Linked DNA regions of Homo sapiens: regions 1 and 3 are each linked to region 2. Evidence: promoter capture Hi-C in 16 types of primary human blood cells and fetal thymus (Javierre and others, 2016). All regions are on one chromosome and are shown on one strand. Each heading gives the region's core, a stretch centred on a gene start or on the middle of the fragment in contact. The rest is flanking DNA. Distances are from core to core; before and after follow the strand shown.

The links. The method cuts DNA at HindIII sites, captures the fragments that hold promoters and counts their contacts. A CHiCAGO score of 5 or more calls a contact.
Region 1: the fragment with the promoter of SRI here is called in contact with the fragment with the promoter of STEAP2-AS1 in region 2 in 1 of 17 cell types (M0 macrophages); the score reaches 5.6 in M0 macrophages.
Region 3: a contact is called between the fragment with the promoter of ZNF804B here and the fragment with the promoter of STEAP2-AS1 in region 2, in 9 of 17 cell types (neutrophils, total B cells, erythroblasts and 6 more). The highest score is 9.0, in neutrophils.

The regions. Positions count from the first base shown.
Region 1 is chr7:88,218,462-88,221,634 of GRCh38, reverse strand. It overlaps SRI (sorcin), which reads left to right and starts at 1,597. Exons shown (of 8, transcript NM_003130.4): 1 at 1,597-1,659; 2 at 2,693-2,776. The coding sequence starts at 1,609. It overlaps SRI-AS1 (SRI antisense RNA 1), which reads right to left. Exons shown (of 3, transcript NR_120517.1): 2 at 2,411-2,886. RefSeq lists silencers at 1,375-1,874, 2,522-2,611. The HindIII fragment of the contact is 22,346 bases long and covers 1-3,173 here.
Region 2 is chr7:90,209,825-90,213,043 of GRCh38, reverse strand. It overlaps STEAP2-AS1 (STEAP2 antisense RNA 1), which reads left to right and starts at 1,409. Exons shown (of 3, transcript NR_110029.2): 1 at 1,409-1,744; 2 at 3,106-3,193. STEAP2 (STEAP2 metalloreductase) reads right to left here and starts at 1,304. Exons shown (of 6, transcript NM_001244944.2): 1 at 999-1,304. RefSeq lists a silencer at 1,142-1,201. The HindIII fragment of the contact is 5,296 bases long and covers 20-3,219 here.
Region 3 is chr7:88,758,403-88,761,575 of GRCh38, reverse strand. It overlaps ZNF804B (zinc finger protein 804B), which reads right to left and starts at 1,876. Exons shown (of 4, transcript NM_181646.5): 1 at 1,492-1,876. The coding sequence starts at 1,599. RefSeq lists an enhancer at 1,186-1,730. The HindIII fragment of the contact is 11,667 bases long and covers 1-3,173 here.

The DNA.
Region 1 (3,173 bases), core at 348-2,847, 2.0 Mb after region 2:
AATTCGTATAGCCGTTTATCCACGAAGCTAATTCTGCAGTACTTAAAAATATTTTATATGCTTTATACTTCTTTCAAACTTGAGTCTTGAGCTTGTACTCAACATCGAGTTCGGCCCTGACATCTACTCTTTATAGTCGGTTACCTCTTTCTGAAGAAACAGGCTTCCAAAGAGAGACCAGGGGACTCATTAGATGTCTCATCTACCTTGATGATTGCTACCTTGATGATTGAAAACAGTAACCTGCTTCCTGAATCAAACACAAAACAGGCAACATGCAGTGTCTTTGCTATGCCACAACAGGGACTATTAGAATTTTTCTCACAATTCGGACTTTGGTTTTCAAAAGGGCTTGCGAGGGAAGTTACACACAAGAGAAAAACAATGAACCGAATGAGGACAATAGCCCACGAATTTAGAATGGAGGAAGCCCGTCCACCACAGCGAAAAAGCACAGTACCACATTGGCGGGTGCTCCAATATTTGTGAAATGTTGATGACCCTTTAAATGTTTCTGTGCAACCTCCACAACAAATACTGTGAATCTTGCTTATTAATGCGTTTCTCAATACGTTAAAATTCAGGAAATCATTAAGTCTAGTCCTTAACAGTGAAGGGCAAGCAATTTTCTGTCATTGAAATTACACAAAACAAAACAAAAAGCTCACGCCTGAATTGCTTCGGACTATTCAACTGGAAGATAGAAAAATATATGAAGTAAAGAAGAATAACCTACATAGAAGTTCCTATCTCTTATCTTCCTGAATACTTACCAGTACACTATTAGTTTGTTCTAAACTTTTCTTATATAAAAAGTAGCTGAATACTTTTAGGGAAATGGATTGTTTTGTCTGAATCATCCAGATAATTCAAACAATTCATTTTCCTAAGAACGATATGTGTGAGTCTGTCCTGCCCGGAAAATGCCCTCTGTCCTACTCAGGACACAAGTCACGCTCAGCTTAAACAGGCAAGGAATTGTCCCCTAGGAAGGAAATACGCCGTTGTCGTTCAGTGAACTCTGCAACCAACAGCAAGCCAAACTCTCCCTTGCACACAGTTCGTCAAGTTAATTCTTATTTTCCAAGGGCGCTTTCGTATTTCCATCTTTCAAAGACTCCTTCACCCACTGGCACCTAAGGCTTGCCCTAACGCATCCAGCCCCTGCCTCGCGATGGTGCGCTCCGCTTATAATAGCTCCGTCCTGTCCAATAAAGTTGTTTAAAATAAGAAATGTGCCAGATAATAGCCAAGTCCGAAGGAAAAAAAAAAAAAAAGAATTCCTGGGGTGGTGTATTGGTGTTGGAATGTGCCATTAGTTTTGGAGGGAGGAAAGTCCCTGGTGTGAATTGCCTCGCAGGTCGTAGGCCGCCACTGGACCTTCAGTCGTGCACTGCATTAGCGCCGTAATGGCAAAGATACGAAGAAGCGCGCAGGCAGGGGAGCCACGGCCGCGCGCACAGGCAAGAGCTGGAGACGACTGCGGAGCGCGTCCCCCACGCCCGCGTGGTGCGCTCTGGGGCGGCCCCCTAGCGGCAGGGCGGGGCGGGGCAGGGGGCGGAGAGGCCTGGCGCACAGGGCGAGGGCGGCTGCGGCGCAGTCTGCAGCATGGCGTACCCGGGGCATCCTGGCGCCGGCGGCGGGTACTACCCAGGCGGGGTAAGTGCTGACTGCGCGGGATCGCGGCCCAGGCGGCTCCGGGGCGCTAAGAGGCCACCTTGGAGATGCTGCGGCCAGCGGGGTGAGGCGCTGCTGGGCGGCTACCCGGGCTCCTTCCGCCCTCGGCTTCTCCCTGCGCTCGCGGCCTCGCCCTAGGCCCCTGGGGTTCGGCCTCTCCCCACGTTTCCCCGTCCCTTCTCCTGGATGGCCCTGCGGGGCCAAGGTGAGGGTGGATTGGGACCCTAGAAGCCCACCCTGCGGCTTCTCGGATACGCGGCGTGAAATCGTGTTAATTGGGTGTTGGCTGACCCCCACCCCACCCCACCCCCGCCTTCTTGGTTGCCTCCCAGAGCAACAACAGTCATTTTATTCTAGAATGATATACCTTCCTCCCTTTAAAAAACAAACAAACAAACAAACAAACAAACAAACAAAAAACGAGTGAGAAGGGGGACGGAAAAAAAGGGAAAACCTGCTGAAGTAAAAGACCTGTAGGAAGGCAGCCTCGCCGGGCGTCTGGGATGCGCGTTGTCTTGGGAACTGTTTCCGAGACAGGCAATGTTCCCTCGCCACCCACGAGATACAGCCCGGCCGGACACCTTACTCTTCCCTAGGCTACACCCGTCTCAGAATGTTACCAACTCCAGCCTTCCATCGTTCATAAAACGCTCTTAAAATACCATAAATGCTGTAACAACAAAAGGAGAATTTGAAGCCCTGCCATTCGTTGGCTTACCTAGTTTGCACTCACCTCAGTAACCTTCAGGTTAATAGGGATTTTAAAAGTTGCTTTACATATGTAGACATCACTTTCACAGCAACTCTTTATGGTCTAAGTCGCCAGTTTTTAAATTACGGGGTGTGAATGGAAGAGAGGGGTGGAGTGTTGGCAGAGTGTGCCCGGTGGTGGGGAGGTGAGCCTTGTGAAGGGCGGGCAGGCGGGCAGTTGTCTGGCCTTGCACAAAAGCCCTCAGTGGTGAAAGAAGAAAACTTGATTCGGCAGAATGACGTGTATGTGTTTCCTGTTTCACAGTATGGAGGGGCTCCCGGAGGGCCTGCGTTTCCCGGACAAACTCAGGATCCGCTGTATGGTTACTTTGCTGCTGTAGCTGGACAGGTTAGCTTTTCCCTTTAATATTAAAGAGCCGTTATTGTCTGCATTTGTGGTAGCTTTTGATATAGTGACACAGAAAAGCGAACTTCCTGTGGTACTGAGTCCCTTTGCTTCTGCAAAAGAAAAAAAAAGTTGTTTCTTATTTTAGTTTTTTATTTCTGAATGTTCAGAATAAATGAGGACAAAGTGTTACTCGTATTTATGTGAGTTCAGTTCGAAAGCAAACTTGTGGTTGAATTAAAGGGTCCAGGATGGTTTCAAGCGAAAAAATTCAAGATCTGGTAAATATAAACGCTTGTTTGTACAACTTAAAGACATATATTAGTAATTACATAGCTCGATTCTAATGGGCACTTTCTTTGGGTTGAACTTGATTGCTAATCATTCACCCCCTTAGGAA
Region 2 (3,219 bases), core at 160-2,659:
ATTAAATAGCCTCTAAGCTTTGAAGCAACCAAGAGAGAATCGGAGTAAAAAAATTATAGGGTTAAAGAAAGAAAAAATAAACAGATCAATAAAATGAAGAAATAATAAAGTGGAGAAAAGGAAGGATGGGGAGGTGGTTTAGAAAACAAAAAGGGTTCCAAGCAGCGGGGCTGTTAAAAGGACCAGAATCTAAGTCAGGAGGTTGGGGGTGGGGGTGGGGGTGGGGCAGGAGTCTGAATTCTTTTTCTCCTATACTGATGAGCGATAATTAACTATGGCCTGGACTGTCTTTCCATCTAAAAAACTAACTGCCCGAGGAGTAAAAACTGACACCAATCCTTCTCCACGGGGTGGGAGAGATAATAAATGGAAATCTTCCAACAAAAATGCTCTTTATCTCTCTGCTCTATTTTAAGAGCAAGATTTTTAGGGCATAATTTTCAACAAGTTTTGGCTGAGGCTGAACACAGGGTTCAAAGATAATTTAGGACAGTCAAAGAAGAGGCCAATTACTTTCTAACAGAAATGGCCTAAACACCACGATTACATTACTGGGAAATAAACCAAATGACTGCTAGAAATACCTGTTCGCAAAGCAGCACTGCATGATCTTCCATGAAATGCCCTGCATCAACCCAAAGTAGCAGGGAGACTATCAAGGGGGCGAAAGTAACCTGCCTGTCCTTTCCTGCTGGGACACATCCTACCTGGGACAATGTCTCCTTGCCTTCTTTCTCCTGGGCCCAACCTCAGGACTTGCCCTTAGCTCTAGGAACCAAGAGGAGGAGGAGGGGGAATCAGTGGAACAGACACCCTTCTCCACCCTTCTCACTTTCCACCTTAAGGTGCCAGGAGATGAGGGACCCCGCAGCTCAGGGCGGACGCCCGGTGAGGGCGCAGAATCGGGGAGGATGGATGCAGCGCGTGGCGCAGACTGCATCTTGACCCTCAACTCCGCCGCCGCTACCTTCTTTCGCGCTCCTCCCCGACCCGCTCACCTCCGCGCCCCCCGCGCCCTCCACGCCGGGCAGGGGCGAGCCTTGCAGCTCCCCGGGAGCGGCGCCGACTCCCCAAGGGCCCACCCGGGGGCCAGGGCCTACGGACTGCACCTCCGACTGGCGGTTGCAGGGTGGCTGCCGCGGCGGTCGCACTCCAGCTGCTTCCCCGCCTACCCAAGCTGGATCGCGAACAGCCAGGGGAGAAGGAAGGAGGGAGGCGCGCGGAGGCCGGCTTGGCAGCGACGCGCCGCTAGGGGCTGCGTGCCCGGACAGCTCGTGGCGCCGAGGGCCCGAGGAACGCTGACTGGAGTCGGGAAGAGCCGTGGAGCGCGGGGAGGAGTCGGGGAGCTCGGAGGGGGCGGGGGTGTGTGAAGGGAGCCGGGCTGTGTGGAGGGAGCTGGGAAGGGCCCAGAGCACCGAGGGGGAGCCAGCAGTGAGTGCACTGGGGAGCTCCACACACGCGGCTCCGCAGCTTTGCGCGCCCTTCTACCGCGAGCGGCTGAGTATCCGCCTGGCTCCCCTGCGGGGTTCCTCCGTGGTCTTCCGGAGATTCTTTCTGAAGCAGCTTTAGAATAGTCAAGCCTATTTTTCTACTCCATTTCTTTTTGTAATGTGGGGTCACCTTTCCGCTCTAGAAATTGCTTTTCTTACGCGATTCCCACCCCAACTCTCGCCAAGGGCCCTGGTTCTCATCTCCCCAGTCTTAGCTTCTGACAAGCCTCCAAGAAACTGCGCTTTTTTCTTTTGTAAGTGTTCTTTTGCCTCATGTTTACCCTATCCCAAACGTCTTTTGACTAGACTGTGTCCTTGGAATAAAATGTTCGGAAATGCCCTTTCATGAAAACTCCCTCGGATAGGAGGACCCTCACAGACCCTGGACTGCAGAGATTATTCTGTTGACTTTGACCTTCACTCTAGCTGGTGCCGCGCGAGCTTTGGTGTGGGGGAAAGGAAGGTTAGGCCGTGAGTCAGGAGACCTGTGTTCCTGCGAAAGCCATTTACCTTCTGGGGCCGCAATGGCTTTGAATGTTTCAGGGGATCCCCTGAGAGCACCTTTGGCTCTGGGTTTCTGTAAATTTTCTCCCTGCGGATTACCAAGTAAAAGTACCTTTTATCTTTTGTGTAGAAGGTGTCAGTAGAAGAAGCAAGAGATCTTTATTCCCAAATATAAAATCAACTTACCAAAAATTCTCAAATTTGGGGAAATTTTTTTCATACATTAGTAAAGTACCATTTCAACAAATTAAGTTTAAAAATTATCCCTCTAGGTGGTTTATTAACCAGACCAAAAAAACCCAACAACAACAACAACGAGAGGGGGGTCTTAGATCGATCACTGGGGCACTGCACTTTCCCCTTTGTAGTCCATACACAGATTAACCTTTGTAAATGCTGCTTTGGAAATACATCCTTTGTTTGACTTGAAATGTAACCCCTCCCCTACCGCCAAATATTATTAAGGTTTAAAGTTTAGGCAGAAGCTAAGGTTTTAACGATGTGTCAGGGTGTGGAACCATCGACAGCTGGTAGAATACTTTCCATTTTGGTTACTGGAAACAAGTCATTAAATCTAATATCAATTTTAATAATTTCACTTCAACAAAACTGTCAAATAATGAGATTCGTGGAGTTTTTTCTAGTAGTTCCTCTGGAGAACTTGTGGAGAAAATTCATGAATCTTAGCAGTTAACGGAAAGTATATTGCTTTTCCATATATTTTAAAAAACTATAGAATTATATAACTTCCCCACGGGGATATTAAAAGAAATTGCACTTTCTAACTTCTATAACCATAAATTATCATGTAAAACATGTAGGTAAGCCATATATTTTAAATATGTTTAAAAGCTCTCTTAACATGGGCTTTGACTATTGAGAAAATAGATAAAGTAATGTGAAATCCCTTTTCCTAAATGAGAATCAGTGAGTCAACAATTTGCAGCTTCCAAAAGGGATATCTCTTTTTCATGCTTGAACTATTAAAATAAACAAATATCTTTGATGGGAAATCTAATGTTACCAAATGTGTTCCAGAAGACTGTTGGTGTTAATGCAAAGCATGATTCCTTTAACTTCCATGGTAACTAATTTTATCATTGTTTTTCAGCTGGAGATGCAGAGTATGAAAATGATTTTGCAAGACTTTTCCAGGTCATGAGGTGCTCTCTGAGAAATCTCTTCTGTTCCCTAAAGTAGTAAGTGACTCAACTGAAGCGAAGCA
Region 3 (3,173 bases), core at 627-3,126, 1.5 Mb after region 2:
AAGGATTTAAGTTGGCTGTAAGAAAGATTCTCCTGGCACTGTGAGTTGTTAAACATTAAAGTGGTTTGCTGAGACTGCAGGAACTCCAATTCTGAGAATCTTTAGAAATGGGAAAGATTCAGACCTGCTACTTAGAGGGACTGAATGTGGGCTTTATTAAACTAGAACTCTGCAAGTGCCTGCTAACCCTGTGAGTTTAATTGTTAAGTACTTATACAAACAGTATTTTCCATCTAACAGTTCTGACTCAGTACTGTATACAGTTGTTGGGGGGAGCAGTTGCAACAACCCACTTTTTATAGTACATAAAAGCATGTGAAGGAATAGTTTGTCATGAGGAATCCTAGTGATATCTCTGGGCACCTGTACTTTCTGATCTTAGATTTCTCATGTAAATTACATATAGCATTTATTAATAATCAAAGGCTTTTATAATATGTTGCAGTTTTGAATAATTCATGCTAAAGAAGCATTAAACCATGATGGAAAATATCAAACATAAAAAAATTAAAGTTGGGCAATTTCAGTTTTCCCTCTTGATATCATACAGACTTAAATACTGTTTTTTATATGAAACCTCAAAAGTTGGTCTTTAAGTTTGGATACTTAGTCACTAGTAGTCCAAAACTAATATATATATATATTTATTATATATATATTTATTATATATATATTTATTATATATATATATAAATTACACACACATACACATTCACACACATTTTCTTGAAACATATTTGGAGCCTTAAAACATAATAGCATGTACCAAGAAATGAATTAATAATGTATTTAACTCATATAATCTGGATGAAATTATTTTATAAAAAGAATGTGAATAAACTGAATAGTAACTAAATTGAATAGTTTACTAAGTTAAAAAGCAATCACGTTAATTGCATGTTAATATATTTGTATATTATACAATAAATTATCCAACTCAGATTTCCATAAAGAATTCTCTTACTTCCCCTTAAAGAATGTGCATAGTTGAGCATTAGATATAATCAAGTTTTCACTACCTATAACTTTCCTTTTGCCAATGATTTGAGGGAAAATCTTTGAGTTTTTCTCACAAAGTAACAGTAGCATTATTAAACTAATCTCAACTGATGACTTTACAAAAGCACATTATAACGTGCCACTCAAACTTTCTACACTGCTCAAATCAGCAGATTCGTAAGTTGACATAGCACAGAGGAGCTACCTTCTGAGCCCTGCAGTTGACTGCATTCAGTAAGTATTTACATCCGTAGCACTATAGATCCTACTGACTGAATTGAAAATACACATGTAAATACACACCCCTCTCTGTGTCACAGTCTGTCAATAAATTGTATAAACGGACACGATGTATCTCCATACCTATGGATAAGGTATACGTTTTAGATGTCCACCACCTACTCATTGTATCAGGATACTATCTCTCAATATCTTTTTGTTTGTGTTGAGTTGGAACGTTTGTGTATGTATGTGTGTGCGCGCGCACATTACCGGAGAGGGAGATCCGTTCTTGCACAGGGGTCCCCTGAAGACTCCTTTAATGCCCCGGTAGTGCCCATTGCTGAGATGTCTCGAACTGATGACCAGGTAACAAGCCATGTGGGTCCGGGCGGAGGCGCAGAGTCTCAACTCCTCACCAGGCGACCAGCCGTGGAAAGCGGGCGGGTTTCTCAGCGGCAACAGCGACTACCACCTCCCGAGAAGACGCGGCCAGCAGGACGCAGGGGGAGGCGGTGGCAGCGCGTCCCTGCTCCGCGCCCCGTGCGGGGCTCCTGCTGCCGACAGCTGCTGCTCTGACAGAGGCGGCGGCGGCGACAGCACAGAGCACGGAGGGGACCCGGCGAGCCAGTCCACATGCTGCTCTGACGAGGTGGCTGCTCAACCGCGGGCCAGCGATATATTTATTTAAGGACAACTTCCAGGGTCCACCAGGGAATCAGGAATTCCCCCGCCCCTTTCCTCCCGCCCCCTGCCTTCGCGCCTGGCGCCTGCCCGGGGGATGCTCAGGCGCGGGTACCCATCGTCCGGCCGGGGGCGTCCTGGGCTGCTGGCTGCAGTGTGAAGATCCAGCAGCAGCCGCCGCCACCGCCGCTGCTTTGTGGGGAGAGTGGCGGGGAGTCCTTGGGAGCGCCAAAGCGCTGCCCCCGCTGCAGTCGGGAGAGGGCGGAGGAGGAGACGGGCGGGCCGGGGTGAGGACAGGGAGTTGGGGACGCGGCGACCTGTGCTTGAGGAGGGCAGTTAGCGCCTCTGCTGGGAGCTGTGGGCTCGGGGCTGCCCAGGAGGCTCAGGTGTGCTGTGGGGCGAGGCCAGGAGGTGACAGCTGCCGCTGCAGCCGCGGGGGGCTCTCGGGGCTGCAGGACCCGCCTCTCCCACCTCCCGGCCTCAGCCGCCCAGCCCCCCGGTTCTTCTGCCCTATCTCTGAGCCAACTTTCTACTGTTTGGGAGTCACCTGGGAGGACTGGGGAGGCTGTGGTGGAGGAGATGGGCAGGAGGAGGGCGTTTTCTTTACTCTTTCGTTGCCTGCTGGCCTTCAGCTTTTCTTCAGCGCTCTGGCTGACGGCGGCGTTGGCAGAAGCAACAGCTCCCCAGCCGGTTGCAAGAATGAGCTGTGCAGCCACAAATAGGGCAGACAGATTAGATGCGCCGTGGTAGGGAACGCACGGACGAGGAAAGTTTTGGGCAGAAAACTTATATAAGGTATAGAAACGAGACATGCATACGTATATGTGCATATACATGCACGTACCCAGAGTTATGAAGATTCACTTACAAGCCTTTCTGTATCTTAGCGAGGCACATATTTTTGGTCTCTATAAGACCTCTGTGCTTTCAAAACCCCCAATAATCACCCCTCTCAGAAGTGGTTTTTAACGGACCTTATTTCGTTTACCGTAATTTAAGCCACCAGGGAGCGAGCTGCACTGAGAATAAAAAGACCTGGGCAGAAATGTGCTCTGAAAGGAGAAGATAGCCCTCCCAGGGTTTGGAGACACCCTGCACTCTCCTCCACCCCGCGGTTGCTTAATGCGGTTCTGCAATCCATCTCTGCCTCACCTCGCCTTGTCTGTGCCTGGGAGAAGGTAAAGGTTCACCTCCTCTCAGTCTGTTGCTTCAGCGCTGGAATTGAAAGGCTACCGCCAATGCGCTAATTCTCCCCAGTATTGTCCTCTCCT